3 separate regions of the Homo sapiens genome follow, and regions 1 and 3 are each linked to region 2. Evidence: promoter capture Hi-C in human tissues and cell types (Jung and others, 2019). All regions are on one chromosome and are shown on one strand. The core of a region is centred on a gene start or on the middle of the fragment in contact, and the rest is flanking DNA. Distances in the headings are between cores, read along the strand shown. Region 1 has its middle 31 kb from the start of KCNA2. Region 2 holds the start of KCNA10 (potassium voltage-gated channel subfamily A member 10). Region 3 has its middle 20 kb from the start of KCNA2.

Evidence for each region. Contacts are between HindIII fragments. The study calls those that stand out against the background at their distance.
Region 1: a contact is called between a fragment that was not itself captured here and the fragment with the promoter of KCNA10 in region 2, in 2 of the 25 tissues and cell types used here (dorsolateral prefrontal cortex and thymus).
Region 3: a contact is called between a fragment that was not itself captured here and the fragment with the promoter of KCNA10 in region 2, in 4 of the 25 tissues and cell types used here (IMR-90 fibroblasts, dorsolateral prefrontal cortex, spleen and 1 more).

Annotation. Positions count from the first base shown.
Region 1 is chr1:110,636,394-110,639,093 of GRCh38, reverse strand. No RefSeq gene overlaps it. Among named protein-coding and RNA genes, the nearest start is that of KCNA2, 31 kb to the right of the region's middle. The HindIII fragment of the contact is 3,377 bases long and covers 1-2,700 here.
Region 2 is chr1:110,517,893-110,520,592 of GRCh38, reverse strand. KCNA10 (potassium voltage-gated channel subfamily A member 10) reads left to right here and starts at 1,418. Exons shown (of 1, transcript NM_005549.2): 1 at 1,418-2,700. The coding sequence starts at 1,806. The HindIII fragment of the contact is 7,025 bases long and covers 1-2,700 here.
Region 3 is chr1:110,585,304-110,588,003 of GRCh38, reverse strand. No RefSeq gene overlaps it. Among named protein-coding and RNA genes, the nearest start is that of KCNA2, 20 kb to the left of the region's middle. The HindIII fragment of the contact is 7,567 bases long and covers 1-2,700 here.

The DNA of each region.
Region 1 (2,700 bases), core at 153-2,652, 120 kb before region 2:
CCAATCCCAAAACCCAGAGCCTGGTTTGGTCTTCACAGGTTTGACCTAATGTGTACATATGTGTATCTGATTGTGAGTGTATGTGCAGTGGAATTAGGGGAGAGCCACCTGTCTTTGCACTCTGCTCTTTAGCTGGTGTTGTTGTGTTTGACGTTATTTCCCCAACACAAGCTTCCTGGAAGAAGACGGTATCTTCCATGATTTTACTCTCCCACTGGAGTCTGATCTAGCGCTTGTCATCTAGCAAGCGACCCACAAGTTTAAGGCTGAATCACATTTTCACATATAAAGTCAGTGCCCAAGCCATGTCTCTCATTTGAAGCTTCTGTTGTCTGCCCCCACTTCTCCCAGCCTCCTGACACACACCCACTCTCTCACAGAGCAGGTGCACTTCAGCAGAATGTAAGCAAATCAGTGCTGAATGTCAAAACGGATTTTACTCAATTATTAAATTGCGAGAACCAGGAGAAGAGCAAATAAATATCCCAACAAAGTTATGCTATGAAATATGTGAAACCCACCCAGATCTAATATTTAATTTAGACTCAACTGTCTCAACAGCTTTCTACCATCCCAGATTCCAGCCAAAGGCCATCAGACATGGCTTGGGGTGAAAACTCGGTAGCTATACAGGCCTAATGCAAAGACCAAGGCTGAATGATGGGCCACCCCTCAGGGACAGGTGCCCACAGGCCAGAGGCTGAAAAGCTTCTCCAAAGATGCCAATTAGCTCAAGCACAAGAACCAAAGCCTGAGCTCTGACATCTGCATAAGTCAGGCTGCTGGGAGCTTTGCCTAATGATTCTGCAAGAAGAGGGGCTCTGAACCAGCATCTGCCTCCTGCTGCCCAGCTTCCTCAGCCAGCCAGAAGGGAGATACAAGCACCACCTAGTGCTGAGGTAAGGGGACCGGTCATTGACAGCTGCTCACTGGCTGTGATGATATTTTAAGTATCAAGGCTACAGTGAATGCCGAAGAGGAGAGGGGAGGGAGAATAGAGGAGTGGAGAAGCAGCAGGGGAAATAGATTCAGAGCATGAATTCCCAGCTCATTCAACTCACCCCACTGCACCCACCAGTCCTCAGCACTGGTGTCATAGCACCATCCTCAGAGGCCAGGAGGCTGGCTTCCTGCAGCCTCCAGGCCTGGTGAGCCCTCCCTCTCCCCCAAGCTTTTTCCCAGCCTGTCTGGCAGACATGCGGCATGTACTGCTGTGCTCACGGCCAGTAGACCCCTGCTTCCCCTCCTGTAGTGGCTCTCTGAGAATAAGGATGTGTCTGCCCTTGGCTCAGCATCTCAAGCACATAAAGCAGATTCTGCTTCCAGAACCAGAAAATACATGACAGTTCAAGACACAGAACTGACTCTCTCAGTCACTCCATGCCGCTCCAGCAGAGGGCTTCTCAGGGGCCAATGGAAACCAGCCACCAAAGGCTGTCTCATCAGGCTGAGTCCAGACCACCCGAAGGGAACCCATACCACCCAGGCCCCACCCAGGGGCAGACCCAGGACCCAGGCAGGTCCTGAAGTGCTGGACCACTCTGTCACAGAGCCAAAGTATGGGTATGGGTTTAGCTGTCTCCCATGGCTGCTCAGCCTGCAGAGCCTACTGAAGGGCCTATCCAGCTACCAAGGGAGGACATGCTGCCAGTGAGCTCCAAGGAGCCCTGCAGCAGAGCAGGAAGGGGCAGGGGAATGCTCCCACCCACCATCAGCTAGGGCTGGAACTCCAACTCACTCTGAGCACACTGCAGCCTCCCAAGTGGATGTAGGTTACTCTGGATGTAGGTTACTCCAGGTGACACATTCTTTTCTACAAAATTTCTTTCCAGATCAAATCTAATTTTATTTTATTTTTATTTTATTTTACTTATTTTTGAGACACAAAATATTTTACTTATTTTTGAGACAGTGTGTTGCCCACACTGGAGTGCAGAAGTGCCATCACGGTTCACTGCAGTCTCGACCTCCCTGGGCTCAGGTAATCCTCCCACCTCAGCCTCCCAAGAAGCTGGGAATACAGGCATGGACCACCATGCCTGGCTAATTTGGGGTTTTTTTGGTTGTTGTTTTTTTGGGGTTTTTTTTTGTTTGTTTGTTTGTTTTTTTGTGGAGACAGGGTTTTGCCATGTTGCACAAGCTGGTCTCAAACTCCTGGGCTCAAGCAATCTGCCTGCCTTGGTCTCCCAAAGCACTGGGATTACAGACATGAGCTACCACACCTGGCCTCAAATTTGATTTTAATGAGCATCAAGAGAAGCTCTACACCAACACCTTTGACTTGGTCATTGGGAAGGGCCCAAGGAGTACTGCTGCATGGCCCACTTATTTCAGAGTTCTTGGTGGCTGTCCCTCCTCTGTAGTCCTGGCTACCACCAGGTCATGCAGCCCCTCTGCAGGCCCAGCATTGGTGATAGAGCTCCCAAGGCTACCTCCTCCACTGTTGGACAGCATTTCACCAGCTAAGAGTTGGTGAGCGCTCATGGTGTGCTTCCCTCCTTGCCAGCCATTTTCCAGGAGTTCTTTAACTCATGGTAAGTATTATTATTATTCTCATATTCAGATAAGGAAACTGTGGCTTAGAGAAATTGACTCCTTTCTTTAAGGTCACAATAACTTAAAATTGGCAAAGCCAGGTTACAAACCCTGGGTTCTTAACTAGAAAAGGGTTGCAAACTACAATACCTGCAGACACCTGGG
Region 2 (2,700 bases), core at 169-2,668:
TCCAGGGCTTTACCATGTACAGAGCCAGGATTTGAACTCGGGTGGACTGATTCTATTCTCAGATTCCATCCTGCCTCCCAGCCATCCTACTGCTCACCGAGCCTTGCAGAGCAGGCTGGCACCTGGCATGCTTGGCAGTGGGTACATCCTTCCTCATTCCACAACTGAGGAAGCAGCAGCTCCGTGAAATTAGGCCGTTTGCAATGGCCACATACTCCTGAGAGGTAGAATGGGTACTCTACCAGTGCTGACCAACCAGACTTGAGCTCATCATTCAACACATGGCACCTGAACTGAGAAAAGGGGTCATGGGATGGAAAGAGCTCTGGACCCCTGACAATTCTGTGGCCCTAGCCTACAGCTCCCCACAAGGCTCAGCTCCTATATAGGGACTCCATGGTCTAGTGGGAAAGGCCCTGGGCCAGAAGGCCATGGCCAGGTTTAGGTCAGGACTCTGTAGCACTAGTTATGTGACCTTAGGAAGTCACTTTGTCCCTGTGACTTGGTTTCCGCATCTGCAAAACAGAGATAACATCTAACCTCACGTGATTATTGTCATCTAGTGAGATAAGTGAATGTGGAATCACTTTGAAAAGACTACAACACTACACTGCAGGATAGCCTTGTCGCCTGTAAAGGAAACCTCTCCAAGGCTGTGACCACTACAGATTTTGCCTGAGGTTAAGTCCCTTACTTCTCTCCCACTCCCACCCCCAGCCTGCCTGGGTTCAGTGTTCTTAAATTGAAACTGAAGCTAGAATGAACCTGAGGAAAGAAATATTAGTCTATGTGTATAGATGTCCAAGCCCACTGGGCATGATTTCCTAACCCCACCTCCAGCGTGCGCGCGCACACACACACACACACACACACATATACACACACACACACAGACACACACAATTATTTACTTCCTTCCCACCTAAAATGATTTCTCAAAATGAAATTACTTCCTATGGACACCTTGGACTCAGGCCAAAAAAAATTCCAATTGCTGGTAGTTTCTAAAGTGCTTGTTATGTGGGAAAGTTGACAAAAAACAATAGCTATAATATAGTGATCTTTCTTTCCACCAAGCATTCCATACGTGTTATCTCATTTGAGGTACCTTCAAAACAACTCTAGGAGTTATTTCCAGGTGAGGGGTCATTTAGAGGACATTGTCGATTGGCCAACCCAGCGTCTTGTTTTTCCTTCCCTAAAGAATCCCCATTGGGTTCATAGATCTGGTTCCACCCTTCACCACTTGGTCCAGAAGCAGGGGTGGAAGTGATGCAAAATGGTTGAATTCTAGATATATTTTGAAGACATGACCAAAAGGATGTGTGAGGGACTGGCTGTTGGTGTGAAAGAGAGGCATTACGAATGAGATTGGGCATGGAGACGTGTTTGGTGAGACAGAAGGCTTCATGCAAATACAAGATCATGCTTTTTATTATTAAGGAATGTTAACTTCCTCTTTTAGTATGGCCCCTCTGCCATCACATATGGAGACCATCCTTTGCTGGGGAGAATCTCCCCTTCTTTGCCAGGATCCTTTTTTTGCAATTTCTCCTAGTTATTAGTTTATGCAAACTCAGGGGTACAAAATGATTTTAAGGGAAGCATGCTGCCAAAATAACCATGACGTTCCTTCCCAAGCTACAAATAAGTCATTGATTAGCCCATTGGTGTACCTTACCTCAATAAACAAGGGCCAGTTGTATTCTGCCCTGGATCTTGTATAATGAACTTCTTCTTCTCCATAGCTCACAGCAGGCAGTGAAGGCTGAGGATCTTCATGCTTCTTCCCTGGCTCCCCTAGAATGGATGTGTGTGGCTGGAAAGAAATGGAGGTTGCGCTGGTCAATTTTGATAATTCAGATGAAATCCAAGAAGAGCCAGGCTATGCCACAGACTTCGACTCAACCAGCCCAAAAGGCCGGCCTGGGGGCAGCTCCTTCTCCAACGGGAAGATCCTCATCAGCGAAAGCACCAACCATGAGACGGCCTTCTCCAAGCTTCCGGGAGACTATGCTGACCCCCCAGGGCCTGAGCCAGTGGTCCTAAATGAAGGAAACCAGCGGGTGATCATCAACATTGCTGGGCTGAGATTTGAGACCCAGCTCAGAACCCTTAGTCAGTTCCCAGAGACTCTCCTGGGAGACCGGGAAAAAAGGATGCAGTTCTTTGACTCCATGAGAAATGAGTATTTCTTTGATCGGAACCGGCCCAGTTTTGATGGAATCCTATATTATTACCAATCTGGTGGGAAAATTCGGCGCCCAGCCAATGTTCCCATTGATATCTTTGCTGATGAAATCTCCTTCTATGAGCTGGGTAGTGAGGCCATGGACCAGTTCCGGGAGGATGAAGGCTTCATCAAAGACCCTGAAACACTGCTACCCACCAATGACATCCACCGTCAGTTCTGGCTCCTCTTTGAGTACCCTGAAAGTTCCAGCGCTGCCCGTGCTGTGGCCGTGGTCTCGGTGTTGGTTGTGGTCATCTCCATCACCATCTTCTGCCTGGAGACACTGCCAGAGTTCCGGGAGGATAGGGAGCTAAAGGTGGTCAGAGACCCCAATCTCAACATGAGCAAGACAGTCCTCTCCCAGACCATGTTCACCGACCCTTTCTTCATGGTGGAGTCTACCTGCATCGTGTGGTTCACCTTCGAGCTGGTGCTCCGGTTCGTGGTCTGCCCCAGCAAGACTGACT
Region 3 (2,700 bases), core at 10-2,509, 68 kb before region 2:
CTGGCTTCTGTCATCTTCCAGCTTGCAGAAAACCTATCTTGGGACTTCACCTTAGCAACTATGTGAGCCAATTCCCCCTAATAAATTCCCTTTCATATTTATCCCAGTGTTCCACCCCTCTGGAGAGCCCTGACTAATACACTGTCAAAGCCTTTGGCGTGAAACCAGAGCCACCATCCTGGTGGGGTCAACACTCAGCTGAGCCTTACAGGGACACTTCAGCAAAAATCGCCAAGGACTCTGACTCTGTTTCCCCAACCTCTTACCCCTGAAACTCCAGGAAAATATAGGAACAAGGCATTCTGGGGAAGATAAGGAAGTCTAGGGATTATGAGGTACAATGGAATGGGATCACCCTCCTCGGGTATTTTTGTCAATGGGATTCATGAGGCTGCAAGGTGTGAATGAGCAATTGCTATATTAAACGTTCCTGAAAAAGCTGTCTTCCTTTGGGCGTCAGCTCCTGACAGACAGAGAAAGCCTAGCGGGGGGTCTGAACTTCTTCCCCAGCCTCCTTCTTCATTCCTCCCCATCAGAAAGGAAAGGTGTAGAAAAAAATTAATTGGGAGAGGGGAGGAAATGAACCCTGAACCAATAGTAGCCCATAAATAGGCAGGAGCCTTTAATAAATGATTGCAAAATAAATGAGTAATTCTAGGAATGAATAATAAAAGAAAACGCTTATATATGGCACATACTCTATGCCAGGCCCTGTTCTAAATAAGTTTATCAATCCTTACAACCATCCTATGTCTAAGGCCCTAATTAGCCCCACATTATACTCAGGAGAACAGAGGCACAGAGAAGCTTACCTGACTTGCGAGGAAGTTGTACATAACTTCCAAAGGCAGGATTTGAACCCAGGTTATCTGGCCGCAAAGCCCGTGCTACTAACTCTCCCTCTTATTCATGACCCAGACTCCAAAGCAGTTTCTTATCCACTGACCTTCACAGTAAATCTGTGTGGCAGCCGTCGGGTCAGGCATTACAACACTCAGTTTATAGACAAGAAAACCAAGGTGCTGAGAGGATGGAAACTTGCCAAGGACACATAGCTGGAAGTGAAGAAAAGAACTCGGGTCTCTTGTCACCTGGTCCATGCTTCCTTATGTGACAGTTGCCTCCCAAGAATAAGGCAAGGGGTGAGGAAGTTGGGAGCAATAGAATCCTGGCTAGTCCAGTCTGGAAAGGGTCTTGGAGATCAACTAGACCAATTGCCTTATTTTGTAGGTGAGAAGATTGAGGTCCAGAGGAGGCCAGCGGCTTGCTTAAGGCCACAAGTGAATTGGCAACTAAAATGCCAGTCTGCCGACTGCCAATCAAGCCAACTGCACCATGCTCTTCTTCCAAAGAAGTCAAGGGTCACAGCATTTGGCAAGGGAGAGATGCACTAAGTCAGGCACCATGAATTAAGCTCCTATTATGTTCCAGCACCTCATGCAAATGCATAGAATGCAAAGAATTGTATCCCCTTCCTTGCTATTGGGGAATATATATCTGTAAACAAAACAGTCAGAGCTCCTGCTTTCATGGACTTGACTTTCTGGTGGGGGATAAGTGAGAAAGAAAATACTATTAATAAAATCAAAGCAAGATTGGGAGATGAAGAGTGACAGTAGGCGGTGCACTTTTATGCAGGGTGGGCAGGGAAGGTCTCTTGGATAAGGTGACATCTAAGCAGAGACCTTTAGGAAGTCAGAGAGTTGGCCATACAGATTCATGTGAGAAGATCATTCCATGCTCAGGGAGTGCAAGGGCACAGTCAGTGAGGCGAGGTGGAAGAGGGCATGCATTGAGGCCAGTGCTGCAGGAGCAGAAGAAGCAAGGGGGAAGACAATGGGAAATTAAAGAGTAAGGTTGGGAAGGGGACTTGCAGATTGTATAGGACCTTGTAGGACTCTGGACTCTGCTCTGGGTAAGGTGGGAAGCCATAGGAGGCTTTTCAGCATAGGAGAAACTTAACTGGACATATTGTTTTCAGATCACCTCAGCTGCTGTTTTGAACAGACTCTAGGGGGCAAGGATAGAGTCTGGGGCCCAGTGAGAAGGAGACTGCAATCATTCAAGCAAGGAGCACGGAGGCTGGGATGGTTGCAGCAGAGAAGTTGGGGAGAAGCAGTTGGACTTTGGATACACACTAAAGGCAGAAGCAATGGGATTTGCTGGTGAACTGAGTATGCAATGTAAGAAAGACAAAGGCATCCAGCATGACTCCAAGTTTTAGGTCTGAGCCCCACCCAAGCATAAACCCTCTGCCCTCAGCAACAAATTCTGGCCCGTCCTGGGAGCCAAGGGCAAGGGCCCAAGTAGGCAGGCCTGGCCCTGACTTAATTACAAGATCAATCCAACCAGCTGCCCTGCCAGAAGGAGTGCCCCTGGGCCTCAGCTTGGCCAGCCCCTGGGGTGTAGCTCCTGGGCTTGTCAGAGGGAGTTGGCCTCACACCATGCCCTGGGTCCCATCCAGCAGGCCTGGCTGGCCCTGTCACTGGCTACCTGGAGCCCAAGAAAAGTCCAAAAGTCCAGTCCAGACTAGGCCTAGGCTATAAGATTTGGGGCACTGAGCCTACTGGGACTTGAATATCTAGGGCTCCTGGGAAGGATGAAGAACTGTGAATAGCTGACCTGACTCTTGAGGAGCTGACCGAGCTGCTGGGCTGGGGTGGGGGAACACTGAGTGCTGATCCATAGACTCAAGCCGAT